Linked DNA regions of Homo sapiens: regions 1 and 3 are each linked to region 2. The links are contacts of gene promoters, found by promoter capture Hi-C in human tissues and cell types (Jung and others, 2019). All regions are on one chromosome and are shown on one strand. Each heading gives the region's core, a stretch centred on a gene start or on the middle of the fragment in contact. The rest is flanking DNA. Distances are from core to core; before and after follow the strand shown. Region 1 has its middle 84 kb from the start of NACA2. Region 2 holds the start of TBX4 (T-box transcription factor 4). Region 3 has its middle 8.6 kb from the start of NACA2.

The links. The method cuts DNA at HindIII sites, captures the fragments that hold promoters and counts their contacts. A contact is called where the count stands out against the background at its distance.
Region 1: a contact is called between a fragment that was not itself captured here and the fragment with the promoter of TBX4 in region 2, in 2 of the 25 tissues and cell types used here (bladder and heart right ventricle).
Region 3: a contact is called between a fragment that was not itself captured here and the fragment with the promoter of TBX4 in region 2, in 2 of the 25 tissues and cell types used here (IMR-90 fibroblasts and dorsolateral prefrontal cortex).

Annotation. Positions count from the first base shown.
Region 1 is chr17:61,673,158-61,677,516 of GRCh38, forward strand. No RefSeq gene overlaps it. Among named protein-coding and RNA genes, the nearest start is that of NACA2, 84 kb to the left of the region's middle. The HindIII fragment of the contact is 4,606 bases long and covers 1-3,914 here.
Region 2 is chr17:61,450,322-61,454,840 of GRCh38, forward strand. It overlaps TBX4 (T-box transcription factor 4), which reads left to right and starts at 2,101. Exons shown (of 9, transcript NM_001321120.2): 1 at 2,101-2,256. It overlaps LOC124904042 (a long non-coding RNA gene), which reads right to left. Exons shown (of 2, transcript XR_007065872.1): 2 at 2,921-4,519. RefSeq lists enhancers at 2,071-2,912, 3,713-4,519. The HindIII fragment of the contact is 13,471 bases long and covers 1-4,519 here.
Region 3 is chr17:61,597,539-61,602,185 of GRCh38, forward strand. No RefSeq gene overlaps it. Among named protein-coding and RNA genes, the nearest start is that of NACA2, 8.6 kb to the left of the region's middle. The HindIII fragment of the contact is 4,338 bases long and covers 1-3,788 here.

The DNA of each region.
Region 1 (4,359 bases), core at 362-2,861, 220 kb after region 2:
TCATTTGGACTGGTTGGACAGTGGGTACAGCTCACAGAGGGCGAGCCGAAGCAGGGTGGGGCATTGCCTCACCCAGGAAGCACAAGGGGTTGGGAGATTTCACTTTCCTAGCCAAGGGAAGCCGTGACAGACTGTACCTGGAAAAAACAGGACACTCCCACCCAAATACTGTGCTTTTCCCACAGTCTTAGCAACCGGCAGACCAGGAGATTATCTCCTGTGCCTGGCTTGGCAGGTCCCATGCCCACGGAGCCTTGCTCACTGCTAGAGCAGCAGTCTGAGATCAACCTGCAAGGCTGCAGCCTGGCTAGGGGAGGGGCATCCGCCATTGCTGAGGCTTGAGTAGGTAAACAAAGTGGCCAGGAAGCTCAAACTGGGTGGAGCCCACTGCAGCCCAGCAAGGCCTGCTGCCTCTGTAGACCCTACCTCTGTGGGCAGGGCATAGCTGAACAAAAGGCAGCAGAAACTTCTGCAGACTTAAACATCCCTGTCTGACAGCTCTGAAGAGAGCAGTGGATCTCCCAGCACGGCGTTTGAGCTCTGAGAACGGACAGACTGCTTCCTCAAGTGGGTCCCTGACCCCCGTTTAGCCTAACTGGGAGACACCTCCCAGTAGGGGCCGACAGACACCTCATACAGGCAGATGCCCCTCTGGGACGAAGCTTCCAGAGGAAGGATCAGGCAGCAATATTTGCTGTTCTGCAGCCTCCGCTGGTGATACCCAGGCAAACAGGGTCTGGAGGGGACCTCCAGCAAACTCCAACAGACCTGCAGCTGAGGGACCTGACTGTTAGAAGGAAAACTAACAAAACATAAAGGAATAGCATCAACATCAACAAAAAGGACATCCACACCAAAAGCCCATCTGTAGGTCACCAACATCAAAGACCAAAGATAGATAAAACCACAAAGAAGGGGAGAAACCAGAGCAGAAAAGCTGAATATTCTAAAAACCAGAGTGCTGCTTCTCCTCCAAAAGATCGCAGCTCCTCACCAGCAATGGAACAAAGCTGGACGGAGAATGACTTTGACGAGTTGACAGAAATAGGCTTCAGAAGGTCGGTAATAACAAACTTCTCTGAGCTAAAGAAGCATGTTCTAACCCATCACAAGAAAGCTAAAAACCTTGAAAAAGGGTTAGACGAATGGCTAACTAGAATAAACAGTGTAGAGAAGACCTTAAATGACCTGATGGAGCTGAAAACCATGGCATGAGAACTTCGTGACGCATGCACAAGCTTCAACAGCTGATTTGATCAAGTGGAAGAAAGGGTATCAGTGATTGAAGATCAAATTAATGAAATAAAGCAAGAAGACAAGATTAAAGAGAGTAAAAAGAAACGAACAAAGCCTCCAAGAAATATGGGACTATGTGAAAAGACCAAATCTACGTTTGATTGGTGTACCTGAAAGTGACGGGGAGAATGGAACCAAGTTGGAAAACACTCTTCAGGATATTACCCAGGAGAACTTCCCCAACATAGCAAGGCAGGCCAACATTCAAATTCAGGAAATACAGAGAACACCACAAAGATACTCCTTGAGAACAGCAACCCCAAAACACATAATTTTCAGATTCACCAAGGTTGAAATGAAGGAAAAGATGTTAAGGGCAGCCAGAGAGAAAGGTCAGGTTACCCACAAAGGGAAACCCATCAGACTAACAGCAGATCTCTCGGCAGAAACCCTACAAGTCAGAAGAGAGTGGAAGCCAATATGCAACATTCTTAAAGAAAAGAATTTTCAACCCAGAATTTCATATCCAGTCAAACTAAGCTTTATAAGTGAAGGAGAAATAAAATCCTTTACGAACAACCAAATGCTGAGAGATTCTGTCACCACCAGGTTTGCCTTACAATAGCTCCTGAAGGAAGCACTAAACATGGTACAACCAGTACCAGCTACTGCAAAAACATGCCAAATTGTAAAGACCATCAATGCTATGAAGAAACTGCAACAATTAGTGGGCAAAATAACCAGCTAACATCATAATGACAGGATCAAATTCACACATAATAATATTAACCTTAAATGTAAATGGGCTAAATGCCCCAATTAAAAGATACAGACTGGCAAATTGGATAAAAAGTCAAGACCCATCAGTGTGCTATATTCAGGAGACCCATCTCACGTGCACACATAGGCTCAAAATAAAGGGATGGAGGAAGATCTGTCAAGCAAATGGAAAGCCAAAAAAAGCAGGGGTTGCAATCCTAGGCTCTGATAAAACAGAATTTAAACCAACAAAGATCAAAAGAGACAAGGTCATTACATAATGGTAAAGGGAACAATTCAACAAGAAGAGCTAACTATCCTAAATATATATGCATCCAATACAGGAGCACCCAGATTCACAAAGCAAGTCCTTAGAGACTTACAAAGAGACTTAGATTCCCACACAATAATAATGGGAGACTTTAACACCCCACTGTCAATATTAGACAGATCAACAAGACAGAAGGTTAACAAGGATATCCAGGACTTGAACTCAGCTCTGCACCAAGTGGACCTAATAGAAATCTACAGAACTCTCCACCCCAAATCAACAGAATATACATTCTTCTCAGCACCACATCGCACTTATTCCAAAACTGACCACATAATTGGAAGTAAAGCACTCCTCAGCAAATATAAAAGAACAGAAATCACAACAAACTGTCTCTCAGACCACAGTACAATCCAATTAGAACTCAGGATTAAGAAACTCACTCAAAACCACACAACTATATGGAAACTGAACAACCTGCTCCTGAATGACTACTGGGTAAATAACAAAACGAAAGCAGGAATAAAGATGTTCTTTGAAACCAATGAGAACAAAGACACCACGTACCAGAATCTCTCAGTGTGTAGAGGGAAATTTATAGCACTAAATGCCCATAAGAGAAAGCAGGAAAGATCTAAAATTGACACCCTAACATCACAATTAAAAGAACTAGAGAAGCAAGAGCAAACAAATTCAAAAGCTAGCAGAAGGCAAGAAATAACTAAGATCAGAGCAGAATTAAAGGAGATAGAGACACAAAAAACCCTTCAAAATAAGTCAGTGAATCCAGAGCTGGTTTTTGAAAAGATCAACAAAATTGATAGACCACTAGCGAGACTAATAAAGAAGAAAAGAAAGAAGAATCAAATAGATGCAGTAAAAAATGATAAAGGGGATTTCACCACCGATCCCACAGAAATACAAACTACCATCAGAGACTACTATAAACACCTCTATGCAAATAAACTAGAAAATCTAGAAGAAATGGATAAATTCCTCGACACATACACCCTCCCAAGACTAAACCAGGAAGGTGAATCTCTGAATAGACCAATAACAGGTTCTGAAATTGAGGCAATAATTAATAGCCTGCCAACCAAAAAAAGTCCAAGACCAGAGAGATTCACAGCCAAATTCAACCAGAGGTACAAAGAGGAGCTGGTACCATTTCTTCTCTAACTATTCCAATCAATAGAAAAAGAGGGAATCCTCCCTAATTCATTTTATGAGGCCAGCATCATCCTGACACCAAAGCCTGGCAGAGACACAACCAAAAAAGAGACCAATATTAAGTAGGAATTTTCCCTATTTAATAAATGGTGCTGGGAAAACTGGCTAGCCATATGTAGAAAGCTGAAACTGGATCCCTTCCTTATACCTTACACCAAAATTAATTCAAGATGGATTGAAGACTTAAATATTAGACCTACAACCATAAAAACACTAGAAGAAAACCTAGGCAATACCATTTAGGACATAGGCATGGGCAAAGACTTCATGACCACAACACCAAAAGCAATGGCAACAAAAGCCAAAATTGATAAATGGGATCTAATTAAACTAAAGAGCTTCTGCACAGCAAAAGAAACTACCATCAGAGTGAACAGGCAACCTACAGAATGGGAGAAAATTTTTGCAATCTACCCATCTGATAAAGGGCTAATATCCAGAATCTACAAAGAACTTAAACAAATTTACAAGAAAAAAACCCATCAAAAAGTGGGCAAAGGATATGAACAGACACTTCTCAGAAGAAGACATTTATACAGCCAACAGACACATGAAAAAATGCTCATCATCACTGGTCATCAGAGAAATGCAAATCAAAACCACAATGAGATACCATCTCATGCCAGTTAGAATGGTGATCGTTAAAAAGTCAGGAAACAATAGATGCTGGAGAGGATGTGGAGAAATAGGAACGCTTTCACACTGTTGGTGGGAGTGTAAATTAGTTCAACCATTGTAGATGACAGTGTGGCAATTCCTCAAGTATCTAGAACTAAAAATACCATTTGACCCAGTAATCCCATTACTGGGTATATACCTAAAAGATTATAAATCATGCTACTATAAAGACACACGCACATATA
Region 2 (4,519 bases), core at 851-3,350:
TTGATATTAATTTAGACTGTCTGCCATCAGTCTCCAGAAAGCCTTGCACTTATAGGAAGGTTCCAGTCTAGTTTGTTTGTTTTTGTTTGTTTGTTTTATTAAAGAACTATACGATACGATCTCAGTATGAACTTCCTCCAATGACTGTCAACAAATTCTTTCCAGAGTCTGGCCTAGCTCTAGTCTTCCCATAGTACCTGGTGATTCACTGCCCTCCCTGTTCACCATTCCACACAGTAGTTGGTTGCTTAGTCTGTATACTATTTATTTGCAAGGGATTTCCCTACAGGCTGTTGGAGAGGTCATGGGAGGGGGCTTGCGAGCAGAAGCTGAGGCATGTCATCCAGGTCTCCCTAACACAGGAAACACGACTCCCCAGGCATCTCCTGAAACGCCAGGGCCTTCCCTTTCTCCATTCCAGGAGTCCGCAGGTTTGGGGAAGGATTCTGCTCCTCCACTCCTCTTAGATATTATTTCCCCTCCCTGGTTTGAGACTCCATGAGAGGAATGGTGATAGGGTGGTGGGACCTGGTACTGCAATGGTGATAGGGACTTGAGCAGCGGCCCACTGTTGAGGTGGATTTCAGGCTCCTGACAGCAGCAGCGACTGGCTTTTCTGAGTTGGCGTTTTTGCTTCCACCTTTGAGTGCAGGGTGGTAAAGAAGGCATTGATGCTGGCTTTCCATTTCCTAGCATTAGAACAGGGACAGACCCATCCAGGAAAAGAATTTCCCTGTCCTCTCCCCTTCAAGCTGATTTTGAGGTCAGAATCTGGAAAGGGACAGAGGCTGGTTGAGGACACTGGTGGAGGGAGGGATGCAGCCCATGCTAAGCACTAAGGGACCACTCTGGGGATCCTTATTGATGAGGATTCTGCTGTCTTTGCAGATGGGTGGGCAGGCCTATTTCTGCCCCAGGATTCTGGGCATGTGACAGGCGGGGAGGCTGGGGCACGGGCTGGGGTCCGCATGGGTCCGTCTGCTAGTGGAAAGGCAGCGTCCTGTGGGAGGTACAGACAGAGAGAAACAGAGGTAAGTGGAGACAGAGAGCTCAGAGGCTGGGCAGGGAGGTCTAGGTGCTGAGCGGGACTCCGTTTCTGAGGCGGAAAGAACCGGGTGGCTGGGAGCAGGACGCTCCCCAGTCTCCACTTCCTAGACTAGGGCAGGCATTGGGCTTCCTCTTCAGCTCTCCAGGATCTCAAGGAGCTGCCGCGGAATCCTGGCCCTGGGCCGCAGTTTCCCCAGGAGGCTCTGCCAAGCCTGGCACCTTGCAGCCCGGCCTGGGCTCTGTCAAGGCCCGAGCCGGACTCGGCTCCACTCAGAGGCCGGCCCAGCACTTCCCTGCCGCCGCCGCCCCGCACCCGGCCACCGGGCTTCCTCCCAGTCCTCACCCCTGACCTCCGCGGCCGACTTCGAGGCGCGCCAGGCCGGGTCCAGCGCCCGCGGCCCCCTGGGCCGGGACAAGGAGGGCGGGTGAGCAGAAGGGCCGTGCCCAGGGCCTGGAAGTGCAAGGCCGCGTGGTGGGCATGGTAGGGAAGCGGAGCGTGGGCCTGTGAGGCGCGTGTGCGCCTGCGACCTCGGGACCGGGGCTCCCAAATGAACAGCGCGCACAGCTGGGAGCAGGGCTTGGGGAGCGGGGCTCTGCGGCCGGGGATCCGTAGAAGCCGCTGCCTGGAAGCGGGCGCCGGCAGGGGGTGGCCAGACCCGGTCGTGGAGCGTCCTAGTCTTCGGGCACGGCGGGGCCAGGCGAGCCCTCCTGGTTGTCGAGCCTCGGCTGAGAGCCGGGCTGCTCGCCCTTGCTTCCCGCCTCTCTAATCTAAACCATGCGGGGCTCCCAGCCCCTACCCGGCTCGCGGGGCCCGAGGGCCAAGAGGAGGGCACTGGGCCGCGCGGTGGAGGAGCCGGCGGCTCGCGTGGGGCTCGGGATCTTGGGGACCGCGACGCCGGGGAACCCTGGAGCCCCCCTCCCCGGGGGACAGCGGGCGCAGACTGATTGACAGCGGCGACGTCAGCGCGGAGGGGGGGCGGCCCCAGAGGGAGGGAGGGAGGAGGAGGGAATTGAGGCCCCAAAGTGCAGCCTTGGAGATCAAGGGCCCGCTCCAGAGCCGGGATGTGTCCAGCCCCGAGGGCACGGCAGGCAGCTGGACCCTGACCCAGCGGCGCGGAGTCGGAGCCCCGGCCGTCCCGCGCTCCTCGGACCCGAACCTGCAGGGGACCTCGGGCCGCTGGCGCCTCCGCATGCGGCACCGCAATTAGGGTGAGTGTGGGTTCCAGCCGAGTGGGGACGAGCTGGGCGTGCGGGGCTGGGGCCACAGGGGCTCAGGGTTAGGCTGCGGGGACGGACAGGAGGATGAGCTGGAAAGGGGTGAGTCACGCGACCCGGGGAAGAACTTCAGGGGCGGTCAAAGTTGCAGGAAGGCGGCGCGAAGTGCCTTGGGTCGGGCCGCCGCCTCGGCCCGACACCCAGTAGTTGGGGCACGAGCCCTCCTCTCTGAGTAACGCGATGAATTGGGTCTAGAGATCCAAGAGCATAGAAATATCGACAGCGCCAGCACCCTAAGAACAAGGCCGTGACAGGCGGAGCGGTGGCCTGGAAATTGGTGTTTGCAGAATATGCAAGGCCAAGGAAGAGGGCCCCGGTACTGGAGCGAAAATCCGTGTAGATATGTGAGTGATCAGAACACTAGACTCAGAGCCTTTGATGCAATAGACTAGTCAAAATTAAAGCAAGGAACATTATATATAAATAATGATCGATGATTAAAGATTATTGGAATGTGAACAATTACCAAAGAAAGGGCTAATCGGCATAACTGATATAACACGTGAACTTCCAAATAATACAATCATAGTCACTTTCAGAATCAAGTGAAAATAGTAATCACAATTTTTAAAAGGATTAAAGACAAAGTAATTCTAAATAGAGGAACAATGTAAGGACTGTTTATTAAAACCAATTGCACTAATATAACATATAGTAATAGTGTAACAAATTACCAAACTGTAGGAAACTAGCAAACGAACTGTAGGAGAAAGATGAACAATGAAAATACTATTAAGGGAAATACTATTAGTGGTAGTGATATAATAATATAATGTATTATTGATACTACAGTGAACTATTAAAAGAAATATTAACTAAAATCTTAGGAGCAATAGTAATATAAATAAAGACATATTAACAAGAATTGCTGGAGTAATATGACAATTTATGACCAATGTATTAATAGTCACAAGAACATTATAAATAATGGTTGAGTAATAAGAAGTATTGTACCAATGTGATGAAAAATAATCAGAGTATTAAGAGCTACAACAATATTACAAAGTATGACAAAATAACAAGAAGTAATGATGTGATGAGTAACTAGCGAGTTCAGATCTGTAACATTACAAATAATGACAAAGTAACAAGATACTGTCGGGGTGTGTTGAAGAATAATACCTGGAGTGTTATGAGCAAGCCTAACAAAACAAATTGTGGTTAGATAACAAGAAGTATTATAAGGATGTGAGGGAAATTAACATGAATTTTGAGAACAATTATATAACAAGTTATGGTAAACAAGAAGTTATTGAAACAGCGTGACAAAGTATAATCAAAATGAAGAGCAAGCAACGGAAACGTATTAGGGATACAAAGCAAGAATAAAAAATTACAATAGATTAACGTGACCTATTGTTCACTATGTCACCTCGATATTGGAAATAGTATTATGAATGTGCCAGGCGGCCCTGAAATGATGGAACAGTGACAGGAAAACAACAAATTTAGTAACAGTAAGCTAACGAATCAAAGCAGGGCTTTAACCATACAGTATTAAAGATACAAAGTAGTAATAATCCACGCGATAGGATATTCTCAAAGTTCCCGAACTGATCAAAATACTACTATGGTAATAAGGACAATTAAAATATTTTAAAAAGCACGAAATAGTAACAGTTCCCCTAGTGCAAGAAACATATCCCCAGTAACCTAAAAATGAAAAGAGAAATGCTGTCGTCTTTGGAAAACGAGGCAGCTGAAAGCAACAGACCCCATCGCAAAGGCAGCGGAGGTTGCGGGCCGCACCCGCGGAGGAGTGGATGTGAAGGACGAGAGCGGACCGCTATGCGGTGCTGAGTGCGGGACCCCGCGGTGCTGGCGGCGGCCGAGCGCGCCCAAGCTCGAGGTCCGAGAGGACCGCGAGGACGGCCGCCCCGGGCCAGCCGGGCGTGGAAAAAAGGAAATTGCTGGGAAGGGGGCAAGCTGTCCCGAGGTCTGGATGTGGCTTCGTGGCGGAGAGAAAAGGAAGAGGCAAACCCTGAGCCCGGGAGGGAGAGCACTGAGCAGGCCTCGTCCCCAGTCCGAGCTGCGGGACCGGCGTCAGTGGACGCGGGCGGTGAACCAGCTCCTCACAGGGCAGGGCTGAGCGCGTAGGACTGAGAGCGCAGGGCGCGAGCCGCAGGGCTCCGCTGCACGGCTCCGGGTGTGACAAGAGCCCAGCAGAGGACCCCATGGCCATGCGGGCCAAGCGCGA
Region 3 (4,647 bases), core at 370-2,869, 150 kb after region 2:
CCAAAAATATGAAAGATTCAAATACAAAGCATTTAAGTACTGAGCATATTGCAGTATGTGATGCTGGCCTCACCATCCTATTGGCTCCTATCCACAAGAATTCAAAATGGAAAATGTACCTAATGACGGTTTATGCATAACTTCTGGGAAATCTCTTTAGATTTAATTTTTTAGAATTTAACCCTATTCGTCATTTCATATAAGTGGTCCCAAAGAGATCTCCATAAGTGGCCAGCTTTAATTTGTATGCCTCAGGGGTTCACAGGACTGTAAATGGAAATGAAGGGCTGGCCCTGGTCTCAAAATGACAGCTTGCTTGCTTACAGGCAGGATATGGTAGTTCAAAATTAGCCACAATTATCAGAGTCATGCGTTCTACCTCCTGCTTATTTAGCAACCTGAGTCCCTCAGTCTAAACCTGAAAGGTTATTCTAACTGCATCTGATCAAATATATTAGCTGAATTAGATTTAATCCATTGCCCAACACCAGCTCCTTCCATAGCATTAGACAAATGGTCTAAGTGTCTTTTCTTCCCTACCTGGATAATTAGAGATTATTCTCTTGGGTTCTGTGATGAAATACTAAACTCCTGCTTTTGTTGCCTCTACCCAAGGGCTTAGGGCTTTTTCCTGTGCTCGTGGCTGGGGAAAGTAGCCCTTTCTTTCTCTTGTACTTCCCTTGTGTCTACAGCAACACACCCTTAAATACTTATCTTGTTTGAATGGGAAAAAAATCCTGTACTACTTGTTGAGATTTATACGTAAAAAATAATATAAGGCCACAGTTACAGGTAGGTAAAGTGGCTCCATAATCTAGCTTTTTGTAGTACAGAGAATAAACACAGAGATACCCTGAAACAAGATCTTGTTTCAGGGTATCTCTATTCGGCCACCTGGCTTACTTCTCCAATCAGTCTAATCTAGATAGTTTTCTGATCAGTTTTGAGAAGGAGATAATATTAGTCTAACCCCTTTTACAGATGAGAAAGAATTTATGAGTTAGGCTTTTGTGTCTGACTTATGCTCTTCCCTCTATAGTTATATATTAAAATCCTATTAAAATAATTTAAAGTGAGTTAATATATGTAAAGCATTCAGAGCAGTACCTGTACCTGGTACATGATACTATATAAACATTTGCTCTTATTTTGAGTTTGTTTGTTTGTTTTAAGAAACTGGGTCTCCCTGTGTTGCCCAGGCTGGTCTTGAACTCCTGGCTTCAAGCAATCCTCCTGCCTTGGCCTCCCATTCTAACTCCTTTGTGAAGTCTTCCCTGTTCTCATCTGGCCACTCCTCTCTCTGTATAATCAGGTGCTTTTTGGACTTGTTTTCCATCAACTTACACTGTATTTAATTGCTTCTATTGCTGTCTCCCTCACTAGACAGTAAGCTATTTGAAGGCAAGAACCATGACTGTTCTTTGTATTGTCTTCCTCTTCAGTGCCAATCATATTACTTTCAGGCATTACATCCTTTAAAAAGTGTTCATTGGTTTAGTTGCACTGATGATCTTCAAAACCGGTGGGAAGTTATTCACCAGTGTAGGCTTTGCTCTTAGACCTGCCTACAAATACTAAGAGACGTTAAATTAGTTTCTCTATGGTGTAAATTGGGGTTGTGATAAAATTAAGCAAGTGGCACGGTCAAATGGCAGGGACCAGAAAAAGGGTAATTGCAAAACAGTAATCAAAAATTGCACAAACAATGGGATTAATTTAGATTGGAACTCACTAAAGCAGCAGGCAGACTGAGCCTCAAAATTAGGGACAAGGATCTATACTAGGTAAGGGAATAGGGCAAGCTGAAGCATGGTTCAGACCCCATCCACAGATAGCTGCAATCTTAAGAAGGTATCTGAAATGGCTTCTAAGTGTTGCATTGACAGGTGACTGTGGGATCGGAGATCAAAAGATCACAGTCTCTTAACTAGGACGGATAAGTCTTTCCACATTCGTTTTGTCCCCAACATGTTTGTTAAAAGATCTCAGCTTATTAGAGTAGTTCCCATTTATCCAGGCTCATCTTCACAAATGTACCTTCCAGAGCTGTGTCCAGATAATAGTGCTATGTCTTCAAAGAGGATCACAGATTTAATCATCACTTAATTAGAGAACCAATTCCAATTTTCTAAATACTACAGGATTTTCCACGTTGAATTTGTTCTCTGGAACTCCTAATGGCTGGGCTTTTGACCAGAGTACGAATAGCATTCACCCTTAATGCTCACGAAGTGGAACATTAGATGCCCAGCTCTCTAGATGTTGTTTGGTTGCAGATGGCAGGTCCTTAAGTCTAAAAGTTATCCCTCTCAATGGTGTACCCCTATGCAATAGCACATGCTTCTGACCTCAAATTCCACAGTACTGCTTACTTGGATCAGAGAAGGAAGAAAAGGAAGGGAGAGAGGGAGGACATTGTGTAGGAAGGAAAGTTTAATAATGAGTTTGGTGGGGCAGACAACAGAAAATGCTGTCTAGACTTAGAGGTCGCTGAGAGGCTGAATTTAATAGTTTTGATAATAGGAGAACTAAAGAAGATGTCTTTCAGTCTTTAAGAGAGTTAAAGAGGGCTCTAAGTGCAGAAGGTTAGAAGTACTTGGCTGCCAACCCGTTAGTATGCACTTGGGACTATACTTTATCTTGTCCCAAAATTGATTTTTCATTTGTTGAAGGGTGTGCCCCCCAACAATTGAATTGTTTTCAGCTAGAAAGTCTGCAAAGAGCTCAGGTCCTTGAGTAAAGATGTTTTTTATGTTTCTATCATTTGGACTCTTAACTGTTAAAGAGGGTTAACCAGATATTTGTGTTTGTAAAGTCCAAGAACTCTATTGTCTGAGAAAGGGAGTCATCCTAGACTTCCCCCTCTGTGGTGGGCATCTGATGTTTCTTTGGCTATCTGAAATTCAATCTTCCTCCCTAACATCACCCTAACATTTGGGGGGTGAGGATTTTCTTTACTAAATTTTGAATATTATAAATCGAGATACCTTGTCCTTGCTCTATGAAAGCTGATGGGGCTCTCAGATGCAATTATATCCTCCTTCCATAAGATCTGTAACTCTTATTGTCTTGATTATCAAAAGCCAACCATATGGCTTAAACTCAGCTAGCTGGGAGTGCCTTTTCTGGGACTTCTCTTTAGTTCTCCTATTATCAAAGCAATTGACTTCAGCTTCCCAGTGACCTCTTAAGTCTAGACGGCATTTTCCTGTTTTCTGCCCCACCAAACTCAATATTAAACTTCTTTCCTTCCTACACAAGGTCCTTCCTCCCTCCCACTCGAGTCACAAGTGCAGTGAGACAGGAAAAATCAGTAGGACCTCTTTCATTCCAGTGGCAGTAGCCCAGTGAAAATGTCAATTAGCTCCTACTGACTTGGCCCCTGTCATTTCTAAGCCTAGTTCTCCACCCTTTTGATCAATTTTTTTAGTTGTCCAATATCCTTATTTTTAAAATTCCCTTTTTGTTTAAGCCAGATTTGATTTTTATTATTAGCAACCAAAGAACTCTAATTCAATATCCCTTTTCCCACACATTTTCCTCTTCACTCAGTCCTGTTTATTTTAATTCCAGAACAGATCTTGACTCTATTTTATACAGCTACTTTGACATCACCTCTAAGCCAAGCTTTTTTTTTTTTTTTTTTTTTTCTGAGACAAGTCTGTCACCCAGGCTGGAGTGCAGTGGCGTGATCATAGCTCACTGCAGCCTCCAACTCCTGGGCTTAAGCGATCTTCCCACCTCAACCTCACGAGTAGCTGGGACCATAGGCATGCGTCACCAAACCCGACTAGTTTTTTGTTTCTTGTTTTGTTTTGTTTTGTTTTAGATATGGGATCTCACTATGTTGTCCAAGCTGGTCTTAAACTCCTGGGCTCAAGCAGTCCTCCTGCCTCAGCTTCTCAAAGTGCTGGATTACAACAGGCGTGAGCCACTGCACCTGGCCAAGCTTTTTTTTGATAGGCAATCTTTTCTTACCCAGACCACTGCAAGAGCATTCATGCTTCCACTATTGTCATCCTCAAATCTAATCCATTTTCCATATTGCAAGCACATCGATCTTTTAAAATTCAAATCTAATCATGATATTCTTCAGTCTAAAACTCTTGCTTCCCACTGCTCTTAGAAGAAAATAAAAAATCCTTAAGAAGGCCTGTAACATGTTTCGCAATCTGGCCCTGGTGACCCCTCCAGCCTTGTTTTACTATATTCTCCCCGCCGGCTCACTGAGCTCCAGCAACTCTGGCCTCCTTTTCATTTCTCTCTTTTTTTTTTTTTTTTTTTGAGATGGAGTCTCACTCTGTCGCCCAGGCTGGAGTGCAGTGGCGCGATCTCGGCTCCCCGCAACCTCCACCTCCTGGGTTCAAGTGATTCTCCTGCCTCAGCCTCCTGAGTAGCTGGGATTACAGGTGCATGTCACCACGCCTGGCTAATTTTTGTATTTTTAGTAGAGACGGAGTTTCACCATGTTGGTCAGGTTGGTCTCGAACTCCTGACCTTGTGATCCATCTGCCTCGGCCTCCCAAAGTGCTGGCATTACAGGCCTCAGCCACCGTGCCCGGCCCTTTTCATTTCTTGAACACACTAAGCTTTTTCCTATCTCAGGGGCCTCAAAAATACAGCTCCTTCCACCCAGGCTACTTCTAC